Regions from separate parts of the Homo sapiens genome. Here region 2 is linked to region 1. The links are contacts of gene promoters, found by promoter capture Hi-C in human tissues and cell types (Jung and others, 2019). All regions are on one chromosome and are shown on one strand. Each heading gives the region's core, a stretch centred on a gene start or on the middle of the fragment in contact. The rest is flanking DNA. Distances are from core to core; before and after follow the strand shown.

The links. Contacts are between HindIII fragments. The study calls those that stand out against the background at their distance.
Region 2: a contact is called between a fragment that was not itself captured here and the fragment with the promoter of LGI1 in region 1, in 7 of the 25 tissues and cell types used here (bladder, heart left ventricle, heart right ventricle and 4 more).

Annotation. Positions count from the first base shown.
Region 1 is chr10:93,756,391-93,763,575 of GRCh38, forward strand. It overlaps LGI1 (leucine rich glioma inactivated 1), which reads left to right and starts at 1,546. Exons shown (of 8, transcript NM_005097.4): 1 at 1,546-1,969; 2 at 2,370-2,441. The coding sequence starts at 1,755. It overlaps LOC101927013 (a long non-coding RNA gene), which reads right to left and starts at 1,327. Exons shown (of 3, transcript XR_246160.5): 1 at 1,091-1,327. It overlaps LOC105378437 (a long non-coding RNA gene), which reads right to left. Exons shown (of 6, transcript XR_001747552.2): 6 at 6,700-6,786. The HindIII fragment of the contact is 5,456 bases long and covers 1-3,450 here.
Region 2 is chr10:93,786,450-93,794,286 of GRCh38, forward strand. LGI1 (leucine rich glioma inactivated 1) reads left to right here. Exons shown (of 8, transcript NM_005097.4): 5 at 3,650-3,721; 6 at 6,294-6,463; 7 at 6,737-6,901. LOC105378437 (a long non-coding RNA gene) reads right to left here and starts at 2,159. Exons shown (of 6, transcript XR_001747552.2): 1 at 2,083-2,159. RefSeq lists an enhancer at 3,876-4,434. The HindIII fragment of the contact is 7,903 bases long and covers 2,155-7,837 here.

The sequences.
Region 1 (7,185 bases), core at 296-2,795:
GGCCCCTGACTTCCTTGACTAGGTTAGATCTCTTTATTAGAACTGCAAGGTGCAACTGTAAGTTTATTTGGCTGGGCATGACCATGAATGGACTGTACACTCTGCTGTTGCTGGCATAGCCATCCAGGTTGCCCACTACATGCACAATGCTACACAGGCCCTGGGTTCCCTAGCGGGGTCTCTAACCTCGTGGACCTTGCAATCTTCTGGGGTAAACAGACAGTTATCAAATGTGAGAATGCACGTGAATGGCACTGTCCCCCGCAAAGAGTTTACAGAGAACTGAACAAGGGATTGAAGTTAGCATGGGGCCAGCTACATGAGCGAAAGGGTAGAATGGCAATGCTTTCAGCTCTGATGCAGAATGAGGTTATGTCAAAATCGCCTTTGCTCAAGCAGTCCTTTTAATACTTTCAGTCTAAGAAGCTAGAGGAGAAAGGAACGTGGACTGATATCCCAGGCTGTTCGTGCCAGCTTGAAGGATGGCCGCCTTCGCCATAGTGAGATAACCGGGGGTCTGTTTTCCTCATCTTCCTCCATCCCAAGGGTCTTCCTACTCTCTTGGACTAAACTATCCCACCCCAAGGCCAGGGGCTCTTGATTGCTTCTTTAAATGAATTTTCTTTTCCAAGGGCCCATCCGCTCACATCAAGTACACGAGTAACATAGCCTATCATTTTCATTTAATTCCAGAATGTCTTTACTATCATCCCCGTTTTACAGACAGGAGAATAGATTCAGCAAGTTCACAGCAGACCTGCGTTCTCAAAGCCAGGTGTCTGGTTCTCAGTCCAGCATTTCCCCCACCATGTCACAGCCTCGGGGCTGAGCCAGGCCTTTTTCAAAGCCCCAGGAAGCTAGAGCTGGCCGCCTCCTGCTGGCAGGGAGTTCCTTCCAGGCTTCTGGTGCTACTGCCAAAGAAGGGAGGGTGGGAGAAGAGAGGGAGGTGGATTATACACAGAGAGGGTCCCGCACTTCTGTTTCCCTTCCTTGTCATGGAAGGAGAGAATGAATTACGTGGGGGACCCAGGGGGATAGGAAAATCAATCATTCATGACAGTTAATAAGTGTCAGAAAAGTATGTACTCACATTCATCCCCTGAAAGTCACATTCTTCATCTGTTCTGATTTGTCTTTCACTGATGGCATTAGCCAGGTAGGCTCAGCAAGAAACATCAAAAGGTTTTAGCCCAATATTGTGGAGAGAGTTTCATTTAGCTTCATTTTTTCCAGCCGGGGCTGGCTCCAAAGCTAGTTTTTCTTACTAGGTTGTTTGCTACATGAAAAGCAGACTCCCAGAGGTTTCTGAGATTGCCGACATCCTATGCAAGATGACTGCTCCCACCCACCCGCCCACCCACTCACTAATAAGACATAATGCCGTCCTATTTTTGGTAACAATTAAAGGGCCTCCCGGTGAAAGCAGAAAGCTGTTTATTTTCTGTGACATCACTTCACTTTGCCTTCGAAGGCTGGTCTGTGCTCAGTGTTTTCGTGGTGATGCAAGTCGGCTCTCTCCTCCAGCAGTTGGATCCCTCCCATCTCACAGTACCTCACAGGTCTCTTCCCCCGAGCAGTGCATTGCTGGAGCGAGGAGAAGCTCACGAATCAGCTGCAGGTCTCTGTTTTGAAAAAGCAGAGATACAGAGGCAGAGGAAAAGGGTGGACTCCTATGTGACCTGTTCTTAGAGCAAGACAATCACCATCTGAATTCCAGAAGCCCTGTTCATGGTTGGGGATATTTTCTCGACTGCATGGAATCAGAAAGAAGCAAAAGGATGGGAAATGCCTGCATTCCCCTGAAAAGAATTGCTTATTTCCTATGTCTCTTATCTGCGCTTTTGCTGACTGAGGGGAAGAAACCAGCGAAGCCAAAATGCCCTGCCGTGTGTACTTGTACCAAAGATAATGCTTTATGTGAGAATGCCAGATCCATTCCACGCACCGTTCCTCCTGATGTTATCTCATTGTAAGGCCCGTAAGCATTTTGATATCTAATTTACGATTTAAAAATTCCAGCCGGTGGATTTGGGGCTTTGCATGTATTTGTAGAAGGGCATGGAGAGAGAGATTCCTCTTGCATGCTTGGCCATTTGACAGTGCTAACATTTGCTGCATTTAGAATTTTTGATTTTTTTAGCTGCTACTGAACATGCTTAGATACCCCCAGCCCTGAACATTATCATGAGAAACCTGTAGCCGATTCATTTCTCTTACTTCATCTGGGAAGGAATAGTATCGTACTTCATAAAATAGTGTCAAAATAGTCACTGTTATGCTAAACCGGATTAACATAAGGTTTGTTCTGTGTGTGTGTGTCTCTTTGTGTGTGTCTGTTTGTTTGTTTTCTCTTTTTTGTTTTCTTTCAGATCCTTTGTGAGATCTGGTTTTACTGAAATCTCAGAAGGGAGTTTTTTATTCACGCCATCGCTGCAGCTCTTGTGAGAAATATTTATATCATGACTATTTTTAATATGGCATATATTTGGATAAGCCTTCTAGTAAAATGATCTCAATATTAATTTTGTCAAATGTGATTCTATTTCTGAGAAAACAGAATATCCGTAAAGTGAGAGGTAGATGGGTTTGTTTGCGACTTCACACCAACAGTGCAGGTTGATTCTTACAATGGTAAATCTGTTAACCTGTCATGCTGTCTACTTTAATGGCTATTTATGAAGTTGTTGGAATCTTGCAACAATGATCCCAATTCCATTCCACTATTTTACTTTCATTTTTAACTTGGGAACTTGGGTTCTTTTGCCCTGGAGTTTTTGAATTAGTCAATACAGAACCCAGCATAACATATGCGCTCAAGATGTTGTCTCCGGGGATCTGGGGCAGGCTGCTACTCTGTATGATTTACCATGTGGGGAAAAAAAACACCTCAGCTCTTTCTAGGTAATTCCTTAAAATGTTAATTCTCAAGAGACTGTTTTTTAATCTCATCTAATTTATAACTAGTTCCATTACAAGGAGGGAAAGAAAATATTAATATAGGATAGTGCAAAGGATTACTCTCTGCTATATGTTTTGAGTTGGCCACAAGGGAACCACATACTCAGTCTATGCCTGAAAATATTCAAAAAAATAATATTTGACTAAGAAATCAGATCTGTTCACAGGCATAATGGAACACATAAAATTTGTTCTGATGTGTAATGTTTGGCAATTGGAGTCCTAGTCCTTACAGCGGTATCACATGGGGGTCAAGAGGTCTCCCAGGACTCAGGTATCAGGTCGCAGACTTGGTTTGTAGCTGGACGGATATGGGCAGAATTAGACAATTGTGGATCAGCTGAGTCTTGGCTATCTTAACTGCATGATTCAGGACCCAGGCCTTTCACTTGTTTGTTTTTTATTTTTTTATTTTCTTGCCTTACTTGGCCATTTTGGCTGTTTGAAGTTACATACACAGAGGCAAACAGCATGGAGTGGACGTTGGAGAGACAAGTGTTTAAACCTCACCCTGCCACTCATAGAACCTAAACATGTAGTCTTGTGCAGATTAGTATATCTCACTAAGCCTCAGTCTTCTTATCTTTAAAATGGAAGTGAGAACACATACTTCCAAGGTTTAAGTAGATAAAACACTTGGCATAGGGTGTGCCAAATGCTTACACATTTATAAATGGTAGGGTTTAAAAATTTTATATCAAGCTAAAAAGCTAAAAGTCACTCATCTATTGTTTTGTGTATATGAAATTCCTAAACTGGTTTGACTGTTTCATTGGATTCACAAACTTGATCAGTTGTTTTGACATTATGTAATGATGTTGGCTAATGCCCTTCTACTGGCTGATGTCTTCAAATGATTAGCAATTGACTAGATATTCCTAAGGGGTTTATCTGTTTGATTGATGGCTAGTGGTGTGACTGGGGGAAGTGTTAGTTAGCACATCAAACAAATCCAAAAAAGATAGATTCTTTCCCACAGAAAGGGGCAGAGTCTCTAATGCTGGGATCCTTCCATAGGATAAGAATTTGCTGTCTCTGAGAAAGTGATAAATTGTGTTTCTGGTCCTCACTTGTTAAATGAATAAATAGCTCTTTTAAAAAGCATCCTTTTGATATGCTAAGGCACCTCCCTTCCCCTAGGAAGTTACATAGATCTAGTTACATAGATCAGTCCTTAAAATTCCAGGAGTAGTGTCAGTAGACACTAGATGGACATTAGCTGTGGCACAGAAAGCCTGGAGTGATTAACCTAATCAATTACCACATCTCCACTTTGTTTTTGTTGGGTGGACCCAGTCACGGCAAGCACAGATGCTGGACAATGTTATAGAAATAGTTACCGGCTGCTGCAGGGTAATGTGATTTCACGTATTTAGAATCACAGAGGGAAGCCAAGGGACTGGTTTTTAAATAGCCCAACCGAGTGTGTGCCATGCCCGTGCCCCATGCTCCGAGTTCCTATGGAACATTCCAGCCTTTATTTCTAAAAGCAGTTCAGGTTTCAGAAATAACAAAAGGCGAGTAATTCTCTCCCAGTGTGTTCTCGGTTAACTCAGATTGGCTAACCTCAACATGGTAGACTTGTGCCAGAGCTGAACTTATGCAAAATTGTCAGGGGCCAAAGTTTGTCCCTAATCTCCAGGACCCTGTGCCTGAAGACTCTGCTCTCCATCCTTCTTGCCCAATATTCTCTGCTTCCGCCTATCCTCAGGAAAAGGTCTAATAAACTCATGTGCGGTGTGTAGGAAATATATGAGAAGGCTCTGAATATGAACTATGAAACGATCATAACAATTGTGGGAATGCATGGATCCCACAGAGAAAGATCTCTTCTGTGAGACAGGGCTGTCCAGTGCCCTGAAAACCCCATATGGGCTGCCAATCCCCCTTTGGAACATGAAGACCAATGGCATTGGACCACCAGATTAGGCCTAGATCACACAAGCCATTGAGGTTTGCAATGAATTCCAACAGCATTTGTGATTGTGAATTGCCACACTCACCCATCATACACTGTGAAGAGATAAATTTCAGAATCAATTCGGCTTGATTGACGTAGGAAGACAGTTCGTTGGTTTCTTGCTTTATTGTTGGGAAGGGTTAAAGCAAATGTCCTATTTCCATCATCCACCCTAAAAATCTGATAATGTCAGTATGCCCCCAGATGCTTTTTCAGAGCTTCTGAAAAAGCTATGATGAGAAGTACTTGTTGAAATGTCAGTCTGGGGTACTGAGGAAAATAGACATGGTATCTGAAGTTACATGCAGTGTTTGGGAAAAGATCCTGGTAGGCCATGGCTGGCAGTTTGTGTTGGAGAACAAGAAAAACAAAAACCCACATTCCGTAGAGAAGAGAGAGAAAGAATAAAATTATTCAATAAAAATTCATTAGATTAGTTGTAATATACATTTTTTAAAAATCTCATTTATGGGTTTAAACATAACAATAAAAACCTTTCCCAAGCAAATGCAATTTCATTCATGTTTTACATAGGGCCAGTTTCGAAACATAACCAATGACAACGATTATGCGTTCTAGCTTGCTTTTAGTGATAGAAAGTGGTACTTTTAGTGAATGCAGTTTAGGGAAATGTGTTTTCACACATTACAGCCCTGTTCCTTCTCAACTACAGACTGAAGTCCCCAATGATATGGGCTCATGATGGAAGTGAAATTCAAATTTAAGAGGACAAAATGTGGCCACTTCGCCACCCACTTATAACATATTTTAATTATAAACCCCTGTAATTCCCGAGAGTGTTCTATTTTCAGGGAGTGATTTCCAGGGTAGTTTTAGTATCATGCTCAAATAAAACAACACAAAACAAAAACACTGCACGTAAGAATCCGACATGACCAGAAAAAATTTCTTAGTATTCCAATTGGATGTGGTCTTGTTTGAAAGACAGAATTGATCTTTCAGGGTCAAAGGAGGGGAATAGCGTTATTTTAAAAATTAATCCACAATCAACACATAAATACCTGATCCATAAGAAATTAAAAACTAAAAACAAATGGAAAAGCAAAAGGCATGAACAAAAGAAGGAATAAGTCCATCCTTACTAAGGCTTTATCATTTAGTCCTTCAAAATATGATCTGTCCAGGAAAAAATATCCATGGCCTCCTTTACCTTTAAAGCAATTGCTACCTTTTTCTATTCCTCCTTATATTAGAAGCCTACAATTTAGCAGTCTTCAATGACCACTCAAGCCAAACCTATCAGCCAAGGGTGTTTTTGGAGGAATTATTAGCTGGTTATAGGTGAGCACGTTTTGGTTTGTATCCAGCTGATGCCCCCATGATGGACCAAAAAGCAAAAATTTCAGTCATCTAGGCTGTTTTGTCTACAGTTTGCCCAATGATCCATAGATCTAATCTTTAACTTTTTAATTAATTACTTCTTTTTTGTTTTTACTTTCTTAAAAATAATTTTAAATTTTATTTTAGATTCGAGGGTCCATGTACAGGTTTGTTACTTGAAGTGAATTAATTCTCGTAACTGCACAAACTAGCACTCACCACAATTGTTTTCTCTGAAAGTGTATTTCATCCTTTCAGTTATTCAGGCAAGAAACTTCAGAGTTACCTGACCCCTCTCTTTCACTCTCCACTTCCACCTGGACAAGCATCCTGTCCGACAGCATGAGAATCTGCCTCCTCCTCTTCACCACAGCACCACTGCTTTCACTGAGGCTGCATTTCATTCACTGTTTCACAGGCTGTGGCAGGAGCCTCCACGCCTCACTGTCTGCTTTCAGTTCCCATCTGACCCATCTCCATTAGCGCTGCCTTTCCTGAGACACAGCTCTCCGTGCTTTCATGACTCCCTAGAAACAGAGAAAGTCCAGACACCTGAGCTGGCATCCATAGTGTTTGGCCCTTTCTATTTGTCCAAGGTTATCACTCACATCATTGACTCTACACACACAGACACACACACACACACAGACACACACACACACACGTGCCCAAACAAGTTCTGCAGGATCTCATTCTATGACCTCTGTTGATTCTCAAATTCTCTAGACTTTACTGATGTCTGGCACTGTGTGCCATTTGCTAGAGTTATGGTGCTTGTATCTGCCTTGTGTCTTTCATGGAGGATCACCAATAAACTGTGGTCCCAGAGAAAAACCCAGACATGTTTTCCCATGTATTTGTTGAATCCAGTTTATGTTTCCATCGATTTTGTGCTGAAGACTCCTGTGTTACTCTCAGCAGATAAT
Region 2 (7,837 bases), core at 4,856-7,355, 35 kb after region 1:
CTCACAACATAAATATGTATTTACACAGAAAAGTGAAAGATTCCAGTAACCCTACACCTACCTCATTTTTAAAATCTCCTACAAAATATTCCGTGTTACATATGGACCATAGTTTATTTACATGATCCCTTATATCTCTTTGTTGTTGTTGTTGTTGTTGTTTTTGAAACAAGGTCTCACTCTGTCACCCAGGCTGGAGTGCAGTGGTATGATCATGGCTCACTGCAGCCTCAAGTTCTAGGCTCAAGCCATCCTCCAACCTCAGCCTCCCAGAGTAACTAGGACCACAGGCACACACCACACCCAACTAATTTTTGTATTTTTCGCAGACAGAGGATTTTGCCTTGTTGTCCAGGCTGGTCTCAAACTCCTGACCTCAGGTGATCCGCCCACCTCTGCCTCCCAAAGTGCTGGGATTACGGGCGTGAGCCACCATGCCCTGGCAACCTGTTACATTTTTTGCAGAGTAATTCTCAGGCTCTGTCAGCATTGCTTTCCTAAGTCGTTCTCTGCCCAAATCCCTCTGCCTACTTTCTTTTTATCTAAATGTAACCTGTCACTGGAGCCTCCCAGAGACTTAGGGAAGCTGTCTGAACTCCAGCTCCCTAGCCTTGGATGTCTGGAAGCCTCACTCTCATTTCTGAATCTTGCTTCCTCTTGAGTCTGCTTCTCTTAGTGAATCCAGGCAGCCTTCTCATGCCCATCACTCACCAAACCTAGACATGAAGCTTCATTCTCTCTCCTCTAAGAGCAGTTCATTGTGGGCAAGGATTTCATTGAATTTTTGGTAGCGGAGCATCAGAGGGTTGACACTGGGTTCAGCGAATCCACCCACCATTTCTCCCTCTGGCTCCCCTGCCTCCCCCACCCTCTGATTCCCAAGGCAAAAGCCTGTCACAAGAGGTTCTCAGGAAATTTAATGCCTCATTCCACAGCCCATCGGGCCAGCCTGTCCTTCTCAGCCCCATCTCACAATTCTGGTGAATTAGAAGCCCTCCATCTTGTCATGCAAAAATACTGCCTCTCCATTCTGGAAGCCCCATAGCTCCAAGTCTGCAGCTCTGTTTTGCCATCTGTTCTGTGGTTAGCTTGCACGTGGATCATGTGAGGCCTAAAGCTCTACTCCTTTGGGCAGGAAGTAGAACTTCCAGATTCACTCATTATTTAAAAGAATCCCACAGGGTACAGTGGCTCACACCTGTAATCCCAGCACATTGGGAGGAAGAGGCATGAGGATAGCTTGAGCCCAAGAGTTCAAGACCAGCCTGAGCAACATAGCAAGACCCTGTCTCTACAAATAAAAAAAACTTAGTTGGGCATGGTGGGACACACCTGTGGTCCCAGCTACTGGAGAGGCTGAGCCCAGAGGATCACTTGAGCCAGGGACGTTGAGGCTGCATTAAGCTGTAATTGCACCACTATATTTCAGCCTGGACAACAAAGTGAGACCCTGTCTCAAAAAAAAAAAAAAAAAAAGAATTCCCCTTGGACAGTAAGACAAGCATGGTGCCTTCTCCTGTATAGCCCCTATTGGCAGTAGTAATTCAGGATTTGACTGCTTAATCATTGCATGCCCACTGTCCTGTGACTCAGCCTCCTCTAAATTTATGCTCTGCAGCCAGTTGCAGTTTTTACCAGCTTCAGAGGAAGGGACATCCACTTAGAAGTTAGTATGATAACTTTAAGCCACATTGTGCCAGAAAATAAACTGAGACACATAACATGGGAGTGACTCTGGACTGGTCCAAGACATCAGAAAATCTCTTCATTCAAACACCAGTCAGTAAGATGAATTATGGAGACATTCTCTTGAATAGTCTTCCTTAGCAGCATTTTATTAATTTTGCTGTATGTGGACAGCCATAGCAGTTCATTCATGTGGTCTGTTTCTAAACGTTGTTTCTTGGACAACATACGTACAGAAGCTGTTCTCTTCTGACACCAGCCACTCTACTGAGAGTAGTTCAGACACCTGCACCATCCTTGATTATCTCATTTCCTTTTTTCAATAATCTTATGAGATAAGGTATTATTATCTTCACTTAAAAATGAAACAACTGAATTTCCAAGAAGATACATTACCAAAGTCACACAGCCAGTAAATGCTGGAGTCAGGATTCAAACATAGCTCAGAATCACTCCAAAAGCCATGCTCTTTGTCACAATTGGACCGTCATTGACAATGGAACATTCTGACTCAGTTCCTATTCTTGCATTCCAAGGTTCATTGAGAACCATTTTCCAAACTAGCAGTAATTTCTAAAACCTAGAAAAACAACATAACTAACTTAAAAATAAGTTCTAAAGTTCATGAATGTTTGCACTTGAGAAACCTTATATTTAATTAGTGGAGGTAGAAGACATAGACTTTTGAGAATGTTTTAAAGGGAAGTTGAGAGAATTTTCAAGGGTTTAGAGGCTAATGGTATGGGCTCTTTAGTTTTAGTTTAGTTTTTTATTTTTATTGTGGAAAAAAAAAACACCTCTAAGAAAAGTTTATAACGTGTATATATATGGTGCTGGTTAAAAATAGAAAATTACACTACTTGGTGACCTTCCCCAGTCATACAGCATTAGCACTGTGCTATGTCTATATTTGTGTACTAGGGACACATTTCCCTTTCCTTGACATTATCAGGACAATTTTTTACTCATTAACCTTTATTAGAATCATTCTAGTGATTTACGGAAGAACAAATAGAAAGGGAAAGGGAAAAACATTCCTGTGATCACAGGAAAAGAACCAGAAGAAGGAGAAAGAGGGGGATGATTAAAGAGAATAGATGGATAGGTTTTTATAAGAAAACTTTTTTCTGAGGTGGAATGAATGGTGCTAGAAAGGAAAAGGAGGCGTGGGCTTTAGAAAGGAGAAAGGATGTACTGGGGAAGAGATAGAGCTACTGGCACTGTGGGTTGGAGGTTTGGTTGCTCTCCGGAGCAAGCGAGGAGGAAGCAGGCAGAAGGGGCAGCCCAGGCAAGAGGAGGGGGCGCATTTTGGAGATGGACACTCACCAGTTTGGTTAGTCATCATTTGGGAGATATCCCCTAGATTGAGCGTCTGAGAGTGTGAATCTCTCGTGTTCTGTTCTAAATGGAAAGATCAATGCCCAGGAATCATTGTTGTTTTTAACCAACATAAAGTGTTGTTTAAATATTGAGTGCACCTGTAATCCCAGCACTTTGGGAGGCCGAGGCGGGTGGATCACTGAAGCTCAGGAGTTCAAGACCAGCCTGGCCAACATGGTGAAACCCTGTCTCTACTAAAAATACAACAATTAGCCGGGTATGGTGGCGGGCACATGTAATCCCAGCTACGGCAGGCTAAGGCAGGAAAATCACTTGAACCCGGGAGGCAGAGGTTTCAGTGAGCTGAGGTCACACCACTTCACTCCAGCCTGGGTGACAGAGCGAGACTTTTGTCTCAAGAAATAAAAGTAAATAAATATGGAGTGGGTGTTGAAGTGAACAGGTTAGGAACTGAAAGGACAATAGCAGGAATCTGAGTAGTAGTTCAGAAGAAAAAAAAAGGACCACAAGTCTTTTAGTAGGCTGGAAATGACAAAAGAGACTCATCACTAAGCTTTATCATTAAATGCCTTTGTTTAATTTATCACTACAGTTTACATCACCTTTTTTTTTTTTTTTCCAGGAGCCTTGCAAACAACAATCTCCAGACACTCCCAAAAGATATTTTCAAAGGCCTGGATTCTTTAACAAATGTGTAAGAGGACCTAAGAAATCACTGAACAATTAATTAATTTGCAGTCATTAACAAGGAAGCCTGGTATTGATTATTATAATTTTTAATTGGCTTTTAAATTAAAATTAGGATTTTTAAATCTAAATTTTAACTGGCCAAAAATTTAAATTTACATGGACTAACATTTGAGTCTTCTATGGTATTTATCATTGGGAATTCTGAATACATGGCACCCAGGCATTCCTTTGACAAAGTGTGTGTCAATACGGCAGGGAGCGATGATAAAGGACTTTGACGGGGTGGGAAGAGACCCGGCTAGAAATTTCAAAATCCCTTTTTTCTCATGAGGTCCAGGAAATAGGGCTACAAAGGAAAAACATAAAGGAGTCTGGGAAACTGACAGAATAAAGATGAAAGGTTACATCCTTGGGTTGGTCAATCAACAGAGAAATGGAACAGGAAGTGGGGGAAGGGAGAAAAGTTTGCCTTTTTTCTCATTAGACTGAACAACAACTCTAAGCTTAATCCCCAGGAATTTGGCTTAAGCCCCAGGAAGGGAATGAACTTAATTATTTTTGACCCTTTTTCAAACAAAAGAGCTTTCAAACTTTGACTTTTAAGCCTCCGAGTGAAAGATCTTTGCAAGGAATTTGTATATTTTGCTGTAAGCAAAGCAAGTAATATATGCCTAAACTTCTCAAAAGCAATTCAGCTTCATTATTTGCCTTCCAGAACATTAGAAAGGTATTTAAATGTCATAAGGTGGAAGACAGGAACAAATGAAAGGATATATGAAAACAAAAGCTTTTTTAAAAAATTATTCAGGTACTTGTCTGTAGAATATATATTCAAAACAACTTTTCTCCAATAACAAACAAAAAGAAAATCTGAGTCAAGTACTTTCTTCCAAGCCCAGTATTTAACTTCAAATCAGTAGCCTAATGAAAAACTTTCTTTGTTCCTTGCAGTATTTCCCCAGCCCCTCCTCCATGTCTATTACCTCAATTCCTGAATGATATGGTTTAATTCCAGGAGAATGCCCAAATCAGGATTCTTCCAAGAGAGTCCTGGACAGACCATAGTTATCCTCTCTGGTTTACAGTAGCCTGAAAGGTTGCCACTCATTAGTGTGGGTCAGAGTTCTCTTGGGAGACTAGGTCAGTTCTGGGAGTGTCTTGGAAGTTAGAACACACTCCATGGGTGACGTGGGATGTAGCTCATTGGGGGTCCTTTACCCCATTTTTGTGTCAGTCTATACCCTACACTAGTGAAAGACAAAACAAAAAAATATTGAAATTGGCTCAGTCTCTCATGGGAATCCCAAGATGGGTTTAGCCTTTTGGACCTACTCTAATATGCCCAAATCAAGAATTATCTTAGAAGTACAAGGATCCATGCCAACTTGCCTTTTAGTGGATTTCTTGGCTTTCTTGAAAGTATCCTCTAAAAAACATTTTTAAATGTTTGGGCGTTTAAAAATTATTTATGTGTGGTGTGAAGAGTAGGCAGCACCTATCTTAAGAATTCTGTGTGACCAGGAAAGGAGGTGGAATTCCTGAACAGAAGCAATGCAAATACACAGAGAACTTGGTGAGTTGGGGTCATATGTGGATATGTAAATGGTCTATGCTGTATAACTTATTACAGGCATGAGCGATTGTATGCCTGTGTTAACTCTGCTGTGTCAAAGTCATTTCCTATTTAAACTGAATTTGTAGACCACGGAAGAGGATCAGGATTAATTATGTCTGTGAGGAAGAAGAAAAGCAAATAGCTCACTTGATTAAATACATTACAATAATCACTACATTCTGTCCTTTAGACCTGTGCTGTCCAATAGGGTAGCCACCAGACCTTATGGTCACTGAGCACCTAAAATGTGCTCCTAGTACAACTGAGAGACTGAATTTTAAATTTTACTTAATTTTTTAACAGTTAAATTTAAATTTAAAAGCTGATTCTCAGCTCAATTATTGGAAAATGTTAAGTACGCTTGGAATAATTTGGGTATATACACCTATTTTTTTCAATTATGAATTTTATGACATCTAAATATAGATCACCTATTTCTGGTAAAATTTAGCATCTGAATTGAGATATATTGTAGGTATAAAATACACACTGGACTTCAAAGACTTAGTATAAAAAAGGAATGTAAAATATCTCAATAATGTTTATATTGATGATGTGTCAAAATGATAATCTTTTGTATGTATTGGGTTAAATAAAACATATTATTAAAATGAATTATACCTGCTTCTTTTTACTTTTTTAATGTGGCTATAGAAAATTTTAAATTACAATTACGGTTCATATACTGTTTCTATTGACAGCACAGCCCTAGACTAAGCCGCTTTGGAATTCAAGAGGGAGTAAGTGATGAGGTTCCATTGACTGGGTAGTCTTCAAGTGTGCATGGTGCTAACTCTCTGAGCCCAAAGTGAATGAGTGGTCAGTCAGGTTCCAGGCAGGTTATAGGGCAGGATGCAACGCCGGGTAAGGTCATTCTGCACATGTTAATTGTTGATGTAGAACTCTTTCCTGCGTGGGTAGGGCCCTTGTACAGCAAAAGCAGCTGAAGTTTGTCTTTCAGGGACCTGAGGGGTAATTCATTTAATTGTGACTGTAAACTGAAATGGCTAGTGGAATGGCTTGGCCACACCAATGCAACTGTTGAAGACATCTACTGCGAAGGCCCCCCAGAATACAAGAAGCGCAAAATCAATAGTCTCTCCTCGAAGGATTTTGATTGCATCATTACAGGTAATGTACTCATCATCATTCCACCTCAAAAAATTAAAATAAGGGCTACCTTTTTTTTTCATGTGCAGGAACTGATATTTTTTATATCTTAAAAACTAGCTGAGCAACTTAATTTTAAAAAAATTATGAACCATTGACAATGCTTCATGTGTTTAAAAGTAAAATGGCCATTTTACTATTCTCTGAAATAAATGTATTTCTTGTGAATATTTAAGATCTAGCCAAGGAAAGAGGTATTAGCTCACAGTTACTTATTATTTCCTATTTTTGCAGAATTTGCAAAGTCTCAAGACCTGCCTTATCAATCATTGTCCATAGACACTTTTTCTTATTTGAATGATGAGTATGTAGTCATCGCTCAGCCTTTTACTGGAAAATGCATTTTCCTTGAATGGGACCATGTGGAAAAGACCTTCCGGAATTATGACAACATTACAGGTATGAAAAGCCTAATGATATTTTGAGTGGTAATTTAAACTGCTTCAGCCAAGGGCAACAAGGAAAGATGAGTGGTATAGGGGAATGCTTTAGCATTTGAATTCCAACTCTACCATTTGTTAAGTGACCTGGGATTGTTCTCTAAGCCATAATTTCCCCACTTGTAAAACGGGAATAATATTAATACTTAACTCACAAGGTTGTTAATAAGATCATGTGAACACATATTCAAGAAACTTAGCATAGGGTCTAGTATAATACATAAACAGTAAATATTTGATTATTTTTCTTCAAATAAAAGTATTGGATGGTGAATCATGAGTTCTAGTCCAGGTTCTGCCACAGTCTATTTGGGCAAGCTGCTCATACTCACTGACACCCCTCAACCCCTTTTTCTTAACTATAAAATAAGAAGGTTATTTTAGATCAATAAGTCTCAAATTTGTTACACAAACGTGTCTTCTACAAAATGTTAATGTATGCCTTGTAATGAAAAGGATTTTGTGGTCCAATAAATTCATGAACCATATCTTGGTCTTGTAGGTTCATAATACAGACATCTGTGGATCTGAGAAGTCCTGCAGTGAGGAAATTTTTCCAATATTTTTCACCCTTAATTTGGCCATGGAATTTAATTCTTTCTTTTCTTTTCTTTTTTCTTTTTTTTTCTTTTTTTTTTTTTTTTTGAGACAGAGTCTCGCTCTGTCACCCAGGCTGGAGTGCAGTGGCACAATCTCAGCTCACTGCAACCTCCAACTCCCGGGTTCAAGCAATTCTTCTGCCTCAGCCTCCCAAGCAGCTGGGACTACAGGTGCGTGCCACCATGTCCAGCTAATTTTTGTATTTTTAGTACAGACAGGGTTTCACCATATTGGCAAAGCTGGTATTGAACTCCTGACCTCATGATCCGCCCACCTTGGCCTCTCAAAGTGCTGC